Linked DNA regions of Homo sapiens: regions 1 and 2 are each linked to region 3. Evidence: promoter capture Hi-C in human tissues and cell types (Jung and others, 2019). All regions are on one chromosome and are shown on one strand. The core of a region is centred on a gene start or on the middle of the fragment in contact, and the rest is flanking DNA. Distances in the headings are between cores, read along the strand shown. Region 1 overlaps SPATS2 (spermatogenesis associated serine rich 2). Region 2 overlaps SPATS2 (spermatogenesis associated serine rich 2). Region 3 holds the start of PRPH (peripherin).

What was found. The method cuts DNA at HindIII sites, captures the fragments that hold promoters and counts their contacts. A contact is called where the count stands out against the background at its distance.
Region 1: a contact is called between a fragment that was not itself captured here and the fragment with the promoter of PRPH in region 3, in 2 of the 25 tissues and cell types used here (liver and spleen).
Region 2: a contact is called between a fragment that was not itself captured here and the fragment with the promoter of PRPH in region 3, in 1 of the 25 tissues and cell types used here (lymphoblastoid cells).

Annotation. Positions count from the first base shown.
Region 1 is chr12:49,461,247-49,465,063 of GRCh38, forward strand. All of the region lies in intron 3 of SPATS2 (spermatogenesis associated serine rich 2), which reads left to right. Among named protein-coding and RNA genes, the nearest start is that of KCNH3, 76 kb to the right of the region's middle. The HindIII fragment of the contact is 4,568 bases long and covers 1-3,817 here.
Region 2 is chr12:49,422,791-49,426,866 of GRCh38, forward strand. The region is part of intron 2 of SPATS2 (spermatogenesis associated serine rich 2); the gene reads left to right. Among named protein-coding and RNA genes, the nearest start is that of SPATS2, 57 kb to the left of the region's middle. The HindIII fragment of the contact is 9,368 bases long and covers 1-4,076 here.
Region 3 is chr12:49,292,298-49,296,474 of GRCh38, forward strand. It overlaps PRPH (peripherin), which reads left to right and starts at 2,850. Exons shown (of 9, transcript NM_006262.4): 1 at 2,850-3,448; 2 at 3,881-3,941; 3 at 4,135-4,177. The coding sequence starts at 2,904. TROAP-AS1 (TROAP and PRPH antisense RNA 1) reads right to left here. Exons shown (of 8, transcript NR_120449.1): 6 at 2,963-4,177; 7 at 2,151-2,238; 8 at 334-1,599. RefSeq lists enhancers at 342-1,105, 1,106-1,868, 1,948-2,865, 2,866-3,782. The HindIII fragment of the contact is 28,443 bases long and covers 1-4,177 here.

The DNA of each region.
Region 1 (3,817 bases), core at 434-2,933, 170 kb after region 3:
TATGCTTAACAATCTTGAAGATGCATTTTTGAATACTGAACATATGTTAGGGAGATGTGTTAAGAGGGCTAGCTTGCTGCAGGATATTCTATGTTGTTTGAGTTGGCATTTTTCTAGAGAAAGGCAGTGGAGCAAGAGTAAATGTTTCTGGGTTTTGTTTCCTTCTTTAGCTTTCCTTCCGGGAATGTTCTTCTAGCTTCTTATCTAAAGTGAAATACAAGGTGCAAAGAGTCAGGAAATAGAAGGGTAGTTATAATGGAGGGAAGGACAACAAAGACTTTGTAAAACCTTTTTCTACTTTTCTAGAATAGCTGCAAAAATTTCAAGGGACAAAGTGAACAACAGCACTAGAACTATTGTACATAATTGGAATATATTGATTAAAAGAATGATCATAGATATCTTGGCGTTTTCCCCTCATTCAATTTAATTTCCAGTTCAAAGTTAATGTTCTTTAATTCAAAGCAAAGCTATTCATAGATCCAGGTCTCACATGTTAAATATGAAGAAAATTCTTTTAAACCTAATTTTGACTTGATAATTCAAAAACCTTATAAGAAAGTAAATAAACCAGATTTGTAGTTGTAGCTTCATTGTGTAGTAAATCTATAGGAAGAATCTGAGCTCTAAGGAATGCTTAGATTACTAAAGCTGAACTGTTCTGTGGAATGAAATTTACCAACGGAAAAGTTTTTTTTAATAACCCAAGTTTGTTTTTTCTTAGTTGTTATAATTCAGTTTGTTTTTTCCCAGTTATGCTTGAAACATTGAGCATCTGTTTTCACCCTGCAAATGAGAAATACTATAGTAAAAATAGGGTTCTGGAAAAGTTGAGCATTTAATTTTTCCAAAAAAAAAGTTAACTTCAGCAAATTACTTTGACCTTTTTAAAACTAGAGAGTCTTTATTTCATGTCTGTGTTTTGCCAGAGCTGTAGAAAAAAAGTATCATTGTGAAGCAGGATATTTCCCTGGCCCCTTTGCAGGAGTCTCTCCTTTACTCAGCCTGCCTCTCTCAACTCCTCACAGGAAGGAGAGCGCGAGTGAACAAGGAAGGAACTGGAGGGCATGAGTGCTGGAACCGGCTGGCTGCTTCAGTACCAGCAGGGGTGAACTCTGTGTGGGCCCCGTGGCAGCATCCAGGCTGTGGGGTGCCTGTGACCCCCGAAGCTCCAGAGGGCATGTTACAGTGCTCTTCTGGCTCTGCCATTTGTGGACGGCTTAAGTGTTAACAGCTCAGTGGGCCCTTTCCCCCCGTGTGTGGGGTGGCTGCCCTCTGCCAGCAAGGGCAAAGGGCCAGTGTGACAGCCTTTTGTATCTGCACTCGTGGCTCCTGAGCTCTTGTCTGGTGTCCAGGAAAAATGAGGTCACACGAATGAATTGAAGGATGGTAAATGCGGGAGATTTTATTGCTGATGAAAGTGGCTTTTAGCAGGAAGGGGAGCTGAAAAGGGGTTGGTGGGGTGCGGGTAGATAATCTTTCCCTGAAGTCCAGCTGTCTCCAGCTAGTTTTTTCTCCAAAGTTACACCATCAAGCTGTCCCTCTAAAGTCAACCCACTTCTCTCCGACATCCTGACGTCCAGCTAGTTCTCCTCTCTGCCAGCTGAGTCTGGGGTCTTTATAGGCACAGAATGGGGCAGGGTGGGGCCATGGGTGGTTTAGGAAAAGGCAACAAACAGGAAAACAGAGATATAAGTTCTCACATTGGGCCAAGGTTTCAGGCATTTTGGCTTGAGGGTGGCGTTTTAACCGGTGACCCACCCTTTTCTGCCTAGAATTTCTCTGCCTCCTGTCCCCATCAGTTGCTTTTTTCTAATTACTATAAAATGAATTTAAATATTAACTATAAAAGAATTTAAATTTTAGACTACAACATAGGCCGGGTCTGGTGGCTCACGCCTATAATCCCAGCACTTTGGGAGGCCGAGGTGGGTGGGTCACAAGGTCAGGAGATTGAGACCATGCTGGCTAACACAGTGAAACCCCGTCTCTACTAAAAATACAAAAAAAAAAAAAATTAGCCGGGCGTGGTGGCGGGTGCCTGTAGTCCCAGCTACTCAGGAGGCTGAGGCAGGAGAATGGTGTGAACCCAGGAGGCGGAGCTTGCAGTGAGCAGAGATCATGCCACTGCACTCCAGCCTGGGCAACAGAGAGAGACTCTGTCTCAAAAAAAAAAAAAAAAAAAATAGACTACAACATAGACACTAAGTGCTTACCAGTTTTGGTTGAACTTAGCCTAGATTTACACTTAGTTGGAAACAAAGTAAAGCTTATGTGTTGTTGGGACTTTCTCTGAAACAAATCTATGCATGTAATTCATTTGCATGTCTGATATTTGGTCCCATGACATATAAAATATTACAACATTTCATTTATTCATTTATACGTTTAAAGTGTCATTGCTTTGGGTTTTAGTAGTCTAATCTGTAAATACACTGACTTTATCAACTTGGTTATACTACATTAAAAAGAAGGGTCTATGGTAGTCATTGTTCTTAGTGGTATTTCATTTACAGGCTCTCATTTTGTAATGAGTTATGTTTTTATTCAGCAATAGACCATGTTTTCATATTTTCCTTTTGTCAGTAATACTTGTAAATTCCTTATTTAATGAAATACTTAGTGGAGTTAAACTTGAACAGCTTAAATTAAATTAAGTCAGTTTCAGTTAAAACTATTGATTACTCCAAGCCTATTAGCCAATATCTAGCAGAAGTCAGAGCTGTGCTTCTTAGAGTGTGGGCTGTAGACCCTATTCCTGTCTGTGAACTGGAGAAGTATATAGAAATGAAGAGTGTTTAGGAACTCTTTGATAGTGATTTGACAGTGTGGCAACATCTAAGCCCTTTTAAACACAGTTTTATTGAGGTATAATTTAAATACCTTAAAATTTGCCCAAGTGTATAATTTGATTATTTTTAGTAAATTTATGGAGTTGTGCACCATCACCAAAATCTTGTTTTAAAACACTTTCCGACTGGGTGTGGTAGCTAAAGCCTATAATCTCAGCACTTAGGGAGGCTGAGGCAGGAGAATGGCTTGAAGCCAGGAGTTCAAAATCAGCCTGGACAACATAGTAAGACTCTGTCTTAGCCAGGTGTGGTGGCTCACGCCTGTAATCCCAGCACTTTGGGAGGACAAGGTGGGCAGATCATCTGAGGTTGGGAGTTCGAGACTAGCCTAACCAACATGGAGAAACCCTGTCTCTGCTTAAAAAAAAAAAAAAAAAAATTAGCTGGGTGTGGTGGTGCATGCCTGTAATCCCAGCTACTCAGGAGGCTGAGGCAGGAGAATCGCTTGAACCCGGGAGGTGGAGGTTGCGATGAGCCGAGATCGTGCCATTGCACTCCAGCCTGGGCAACAAGAGCAAAACTCCATCTTAAAAAAAAAAAAAAAAAAAAGGACTCTGTTTCTACAAAAAATAAAAAAATTAGCCAATTATACTGACACATGCCTGTTACAGTCCCAGCTATTTGGGAGGCTGAGGTGGGAGGATTACTTGAGCCCAGGAATTTGAGGCTACAGTGAGCTATGATCACTACACTCTAGCCTGGGTGACAGAGCGGGACCATGTCTCTTAAAAAAACAGAAACAAAACCCTCTTTTCCTTATCCCCCAATATTCTCTTGTTTGTGATCAATTCCTGCTCCCTACCCCAGCCACAGGCAAACATTGATCTTCTGTCACTTTATTTTTGCATTTTCTAGAAATTTCATATACACATATTAGTACAATATAGATATTATGTCTGGCTTCTTTTCACTTAGTGTAATGTTTTTAAGGTTCCTCCATATTGTTGAATGTGTCAGTAGTTTGC
Region 2 (4,076 bases), core at 15-2,514, 130 kb after region 3:
ATTCCCAGCTACTCAGGAGGCTTAGGTAGGAGAATCGTTTGAGCCCAGGAGATGGAGGTTACAGTGAGCCAAGACCGTGCCACAGCACTCCAGCCTGGGAAACAGAACCAGACCCTATTTAAAAAAAAAAAAAAATTTTTTTAATTGACTGTGACTATGTGAATGTAAGATTAATTTGGTCTTTGATTACCTTTGTATGTTGCTCCTCCCTTATTTTCTACTCCAATAAGTATTACCTTTCTCTGTTTTATGTTTTATGTCCTCATCCCTTTTCAAAGAAAAAAGTCTTCCCTATTTGGGGGAAAACCCCTTTTGCTTTGCCTTGCTAGCACTCTGGTTAATACTGTTTTTGTTTTTTTTTTTTGAGATGAAGTCTCTGTTGCCCAGGCTGGAGTGCAGTGGTGCGATCTCGGCTCACTGCAGTGTCTGCCTCATGGGTTCAAGCGATTCTCCTGCCTCAGCCTCCCGAGTAGCCAGGACTACAGGCACGCACCACCACACCAGATAATTTTTGTAGTTTTAGTAGAGACAGGGTTTCCCCATGTTGGCCAGGCTGGTCTCGAACTCCTGACCTCAAGTGATCCTCCTGCCTTGATCTCCCACAGTGCTAGGATTACGGGCGTGAGCCACCGCGCCTGGCCTAATACTCTATTTTTTAAAATCCCTTTATTGTCAAACAGTTGAATAGTTAAGTGGCTTGGTCCCCACTTTTCCACAACCTGCTCTCATATTGAAGCCTCCTTGCATTCTGATATACCATAATTCTTCCATGAAACTGAAAGAGCATCATCCTCCCACCCAAACTCTCACAAAGCTTAGAAAATTATAAGCATTCAATGAATATTAGTTGAATAATGAATGAAATGAGAAAGTTTAAAGTTCTATCACTGAGAGTCCTCTGATGCTTTCAATCAATGGATTTAAAGAAACCCTGTAAGTAACTGTCGTACCCAAATTCACCTAAATGGATGTTGTTGTGTAACATGAATTTTATTGTTTTTTTCTGAGAAACCTATGATTTATATCAGAGTCAGGGAAGGCATTTTAAATATTATGTTACGGAGAAAAGTTTAACTCTGAGGGCAAATTTATTAGTAAAAATCTCTTGTTTTTTCTATTAAGAGAACTCAGACCAGGCGCAGTGGCTCACTCCTGTAATCTCAGCACTTTGGGAGGCCAAGGCGGGCAAATCACTTGAGGTTAGGAGTTTGAGACCAGCCTGGCCAACATGGCGAAACTCCATTTCTACTAAAAATACAAAAATTAGCCAGGCATGGTGGTATGCGCCTGTAATCCCAGCTGCTCGGGAGGCTGAGGCAGGAGAATCACTTGAACCCGAGAGGTGGAGGTTGCAGTGAGCTGAGATCCTGCCACTGCACTCCAGCCTGGGCAACAGAACGGGACTCTGTCTCAAAACAAACAAACAAACAAACAAAAAAAACAAACTCAGACCATTATTTTTCTACTTCAGTGATACTCAGACCTTTGTTCCTCAGCCCCATGTAGTCCGTTCAGCAGCCATCTTCTTCTGAGACATCTGTGATATTAACCAGAACATACCTGCATAGGGAACCATGGTGCCCTTTTGATTAATGAGAATAGCTAATGTGGCCCCAGAGGCATATGCTTTTAAGCACAACAGTCTCAGCTTTGGTCAGTTTGATTTATCTTTTGTCATTATAATAGGTAGACTTGTTGACAGTTAGTATTTTTGTTTTATCTGTCTAGTAGATTGTATTAGTTTGCCAAAAGTTATTAGGGCAAAGTTTCTGTGATTATAGTTCTCTTATCTGTTACTATTATATCTTATATAGTGTTTACTGTTAATTGGGAAAGTTGATTAAAGCAGGAAATAAAAAATGATACATACGTACCATAGTATTTTTTATTTGTTTTGTTTGTTTGAGATGGAGTTTTGCTCTTTTGCCCAGCCTGGAGTGAAGTGGCGAGATCTTGGCTCACTGCAACCTCCGCCCCCCACCAGATTCAAGTGATTCTCCTGCCTCAGCCTCCCAAGTAGCTGGGATTACAGGCACCCACCACCACGCCCAGCTAATTTTTGTACTTTTAGTAGAGATGGGGTTTCGCCGTGTTGGCCAGGATGGTCTGGAACTCCTGACCTCGGATGATCCACTCCCGCTTGGCCTCCCAAAGTGCTGGGATAACAGGAGTGAGCCACCACACCTGGCCCATAGTATTTTATTTTAGCTTAAAACAAATGTACATTTATTCACCAATCTTTGATGTATTTAGTATGAGTTTGCTGATTAGAATTCTTCATATTTTTGGCATTAATTACACCCTGTGATACATTCTTGCAACTTCTATTTACGGTTTTTTTAAGCAGAGTGAGAACTCTTAGAGACTTGAAGCAATGAGTACAAACCCTTTTTTTAGATTTTTAATTTCCCTCCCAACTTGTATATGTGTCTCACCCACACTTAAATTGAGGACAGTTTTAAAAATAATTTGTATTGGTTCAGTCTTCTAGAGCCTTCTGTTTAGTTTTTAAAGAAATAATTTTTCTTATAGTTTATTGATGTATTTACTTTTGTTTTTCTTTTCTTTTTTGTAGACAGGGTCTCACTCTGTTGCAGAGGCTGAAGTGCAGTGGTGCTATCACAGCTCAGGTGATCCTCCTACCTTAGCCTCCCGAGTAGCTGGGACTACAGGCGTGTGCCATCGTGCCTGGCTAATTTTTACATTTTTTATAGAGATGGGGTATTGCTATGTTGCCCAGGCTCGTCTCGAACTCCTGGGATCAAGCGATCCATCTACCTTGGCCTCCCAAAGTGCTGGGATTACAGGCATGAGCCACCACGTCCGGCCATGTAAGTGTTAATATTTCTGTCTTTTTTGAGACGGAGTCTTCTCTGTTGCCCAGGCTGGAGTGCAGTGGCACGATCTCAGCTCACTGCATCCTCTGCCTCCCAGGTTCAAGCAATTCTCCTGCCTCAGCCTCCCAAGTAGCTGGGATTACAGGCGCATGCCACCATACCCAGCTAATTTTTTTGTATTTTTAGTAGAGACGGGGGTTTCACCACGTTGGCCAGGCTGGTCTCGAACTCCTGACCTCAAGCGATCTGCCTGCCTTGGCCTCCCAAAGTGCTGGGATTACAGGTGTCAGCCACCATGCCCAGCCAGTATTAATATTTCATGACAATTATGTAATTGTAATTATGAGCACAACTGGCATTAAGTAGGTTTGAGAACAACAAATAGATTAGACTCTTAGTAAGTATTGCATAGTGGGAAGAGAAAAGCCTGCGTGTACGCCAGTGTTGCCTTTTAGCCTACCAGTGTTCATTTAGGGGTGTTAGTCAATTCATGCTAAGGGTAATGGATAGCATCAGTTAAACTGTGAAGGTAAGAGGTAAAAGGACATCTTTAGTTTTTTTCTTTGTTTTTGGTAAACTTTTTTTTTTTTGATGTGTAATACACACAAAATGCAAAATCCTTAAGGGTACAACGTAATGAATTTTTACATTGAACACAGCCATATAACCACTATTCAGATCAGGATCCTAGAAGCCCTCCTGTGCTCTGACCCAGATTCTCTCCCTGACCAGTATTCTGATTTATATCACAAGACCAGTATTCTGACTTATGTCACAATAGATGAGATTTGTTCGATTATGAGGTTCATATAAATGGAAACATGCAGCATGCACTATTTTGCACCTGACATTCTTTGCTTAGCATTGCTTTTGAAATTCATCCTTGTTGTATCATCAGTAGCTCCTTTTTCATTGCTGTATCATATTCTTTTTTTTGAGACAGAGTCTCGCTGTCACCCAGGCTGGAGTGCAGTGGCGCCATCTTGGCTCACTGCAAGCTCCGCCTCCCGGGTACACGCCATTCTCCTGCCTCAGCCTCCCGAGTAGCTGGGACTACAGGCGCCCGCCACCTCGCCCAGCTAATTTTTTGTATTTTTAGTACAGACGGGGTTTCACTGTGTTAGCCAGGATGGTCTCGATCTCCTGACCTCGTGATCCTCCCGCCTCGGCCTCCCAAAGTGCTGGGATTACAGGCGTGAGCCACCGTGCCCAGCCTGTATCATATTCTATTCTGTGAAT
Region 3 (4,177 bases), core at 1,600-4,099:
GTCTCAAAAAAAAAAAAAGGAAGAAAAAAGAAAGAAAGAGAGAAAGAAAGAAAGAAAGAAAATGGGGTGAACAGAGGTTAAGTCACTCAGAAAACCCAAAGCACACAGCTAATTAAGGTGAGCAGCCATGAATGAACCTGCACCATCTGCCCAGAGTCCCGGTCCACCAGGGGAGGATGAGGCCAGGGAGGACTTGGCTTCTTCCGCCTTGGGTCCAAGCACTACTTTCAGCAACCAGGGGCACAGTCCAAAAGAAGCCCAGACTCTCACTGCTCTTGGGGCTGACATTATCACTCTGGAGGTTAATAATAATAGCAATAATAAAACCAGCTTCCATTTTCAGGCTTTAAGATGTGTGTCCTAAGCACTTCACATGTATTTATTTATTCCTTTAGTCCTCCCAACAACACTATGAGGTAGAAGCTACAGTTAGTTATCTCCCTTTTCTTGAGGGACATGAAGGGACGTAGTGACGAGCCTAAATTCTACAACAGAGTGGTGGATCAGATGGGAAGTGTGGCAGCTGGATGCCAGAGCCCGGCTCTTAACCCAGACTCTTTGCCTACCTTTGCTCCGCCTGGAGTTGCTGGCCTGCTCCTTCTGCTTTAGGGGAGGAGCCTCTTCTGCCTGGCAGTTCCCCACCCAGGCCTGATCCACAGCTCCAGAGCCCTGCTGTGGCAGCCCTCTGTCCCTTCTCCTCCGAGGCATGTAGGTGGCCAGCGGAGCCCTTAAGCAGGGTGAGGACGGGAACTCCATCTGGAACTCCCCAGGCCCAGCTGCAGCCCCAGCAGCCTCTACTCTCAGAGGCTTGGGTCCCCCACTAGTGCCCTGTAGACAGGGCCTGAGCTGGTCCTCCCCAGGCCTTGCCCGCCTCTCCTGATGCAGAGCTGGCTCCCTGCTCCTGGAGGGTGGGGCCAAATCCGGGATAGATGGGGCTCCAGGCCAACAGCAGCTGGGGCTCAGTGCCCAGGACTGCGGCAGGAAGCACCAAGGCTTCCCTAGCCCCTCCTCACACCCACCAAGCCTCCCGGCCCTATCCCGGGTGGGACCCTACCCCTCCCAATTCCCAGGAGTTAGGGGAGGCCAAGCTGTCATTTATTCGTCCTGTCCCATCTCTCCCTTCCTCCCGCTTCCCACTCCCCTGGCAACCAAACCAGACCCATCAAGGAGAAGGAACTGGCAGCTGTGCAGGGAGAGACTAATGGCCCGGAAGGAAGGAGGGGCCTGGAAAGGAGACGAAGGCGGTAGGGACGTGAGCAGGGCGTTGGCCCTGGCCCATCTCACAGGACGCACAAAGGGGGGAGGGGGCTGCTGCCCTGCAATACTGAGGAGCTGGCCAGCCAGGGAGCCGCCCTCCTTACCCCCAGCCAGATATCCAGGCAGGAACCTGAAACCTGCTTCCCCAGATGCACTCTCTTGTCCTCAGGTCCCATCTGAGGCAGACCTGTCTCACAGGACAGCGCTGGAGTCCCCAGCAGCAGCAGCAGCCCCAGCCCTATGGTTCCTGGCAAACCCAGCAGACCTCAGCAACCCGGCTCCTGCAGACCATCCGAGCTGCCTCTGTCCACTCCTGGGCAGGTTGTGCTTGCATTCTGGAAGCTGTTTGACATACAAAGGCCAGATATCAGCCTTCTCGCTAACTCTGGAGTAGGGGAGGGTGTGGTGGGATGTGTGATTGTGTGTGTATGTGTGTGTATGTAGTGTGTGTGCGCATAGATATACAAAGCTGTGTGTATGCATCTGTTTGCGTGCGCAGGTTTGTGGACCTGTTCTGGGGCCTTCTCTCTTTCAGACTGCTGGGGATGGGCACTTTCTCTTTCCCCATCTCTTCCCCATCCAGCCCCACCCATCCCTGGTACCTGCAACTCATCAATACTGGAAACCAGCTCCTGCCAGTCCATCCATCTCTCAGCCTTGGCAGCCGCTGTTGCCCCTCAGCCCCCTCCCCTTCCTACCTCAGGAATCACTCTGGTTCCTGTAAAGCCCATGACTGAGCAGCAATTGGTGTGGGGTTGGGGGGAGGGAGAATCCAGTAAACCAAGACAGAATACAAAAGGCCCACTTAGCCCAGCCCGTGGCATGGGGCAGACCCTCCCGAGTGGGATCCAGAGCTGGGTCCAGCCACCCTCAGCCCCCTATGATGTACCCACCTCATTGGGGCTTGTTGCGGGGTAGGTCTAGGTTTGGGGGCTGTGTCTTTAAGGCTGAAACATCAGCAGACAACCTCTGCTGGGCCGTCTTCAGGGGAGGGGGAGGGGGGCTGGTCAGCCCATTAGCAGCAGAGCTGGCGCCAGGCACCAGCCCTTCACAGGGCCCTGGGGATTAGGGAGAGTAGCTCTTCCCCAGCCCGATCTGCCTCTGCGCCCCTGTCTCCTATTCCTCTCTGGGTGTGGTGAAGGAGGGGTAGCTGACAGCAGGTGAAAATAGAGCCTGGCCTTCAGGGGGCAAGTCAAGGCACTAGCTATGGGGCCTAAGCCAGGTCAACTCTCCCTCCAGCTGGCCTCCTCCCTACTCCTGTGCCAGAAGCCTGCCCTTTAACTTCAGGTCCTTCTACCTCGCAATTTTCAGGGACTCTAGTTCAAGTCAGGCCTTCCTACCCTAGGTTCTAGCTTTGGGTGCTTGTTGGGAGGAAGTGACCCCCACCCCAGCGGCAACAGGGGGCAATCAAGTGGGTAGAGGCCTGCAACCAGGGAAGGGAGGGGAAGGCGCTCCTGCTGTTCCGCAGGGGTGGGGCATCCCCCTCCCCATACAACCCCCCTCCAGCGGGCCATCAGGCCAGTGGGAGGAGCTGCCCGTGCCCCCCCTGAGACCGCAGGGCTATAAAGCCGCCTCGCAGCGGTCTGCGGCTCCTTCCCAGCCCCCGGCCTAGCTCTGCGAACGGTGACTGCCCATCCTTGGCCGCAATGAGCCACCACCCGTCGGGCCTCCGGGCCGGCTTCAGCTCCACCTCATACCGCCGTACCTTCGGTCCACCGCCCTCACTATCCCCCGGGGCCTTCTCCTACTCGTCCAGCTCCCGCTTCTCCAGCAGCCGCCTGCTGGGCTCCGCGTCCCCGAGCTCCTCGGTGCGCCTGGGCAGCTTCCGTAGCCCCCGAGCGGGAGCGGGCGCCCTCCTGCGCCTGCCCTCGGAGCGCCTCGACTTCTCCATGGCCGAGGCCCTCAACCAGGAGTTCCTGGCCACGCGCAGCAACGAGAAGCAGGAGCTGCAGGAGCTCAACGACCGCTTCGCCAACTTCATCGAGAAGGTACGCTTTCTGGAGCAGCAGAACGCGGCCCTGCGCGGGGAGCTGAGCCAAGCCCGGGGCCAGGAGCCGGCGCGCGCCGACCAGCTGTGCCAGCAGGAGCTGCGCGAGCTGCGGCGAGAGCTGGAGCTGTTGGGCCGCGAGCGTGACCGGGTGCAGGTGGAGCGCGACGGGCTGGCGGAGGACCTGGCGGCGCTCAAGCAGAGGTCAGGGGGCAGGGCTGGGCCGCTGCCGTCGAGGCGAGGTCGAAGCGGCCGTCGAGGCGGCTGCTCTTGCCTCCCCTCGCTTCCCCTCTCCATCAGCAGCCCAAGGGTGTGGCTCCCCTTACCAACCCAGGTGTGTGCGGGCAGCATCCCTGCCCACGGGCTCCAAGTGCCCCCCGCTACCCCTTTGCTCTGAGTGTTTGGGGAGGTGGGAGAAGTGGGTATCTGTGCCTCCCCTGAGTAATGAGGAAACCCCCTTTTCAGCTCCCAGTCCGTTAGAGACAATGCGGGGCAATTCCATTAGACAGCCTCAGCCCTCCATTTAGAGTCCTGGGCAGCAGAACAGCCTCTAACCGGATCCTGGGGGGCGTGCGGTCTGGGGTGCGAGCTGGGCGGCGACCCCGCAGTTCAGCCTCTGCACGCTCTTCCCGTCAGGTTGGAGGAGGAGACGCGCAAGCGGGAGGACGCGGAGCACAACCTCGTGCTCTTCCGCAAGGTGAGTCCGAGCCCCTCTCCGAGTTCAGCCTCCCCACCGCTACCCCCGATCTCAGTATCCAGAGGTGGCATCGGTGGGCGCGGGGAGAAGGGGGTAACCCAGATGCCTCCTGAGGCAGACAGGGAAGGCCTGGTCCTTCCTTGGTCTGCGCAGCCCCTAACTTATCTTGAACCTCCACTGCCACCCCTCGAAGGACGTGGACGATGCCACTCTGTCCCGCCTGGAACTAGAGCGCA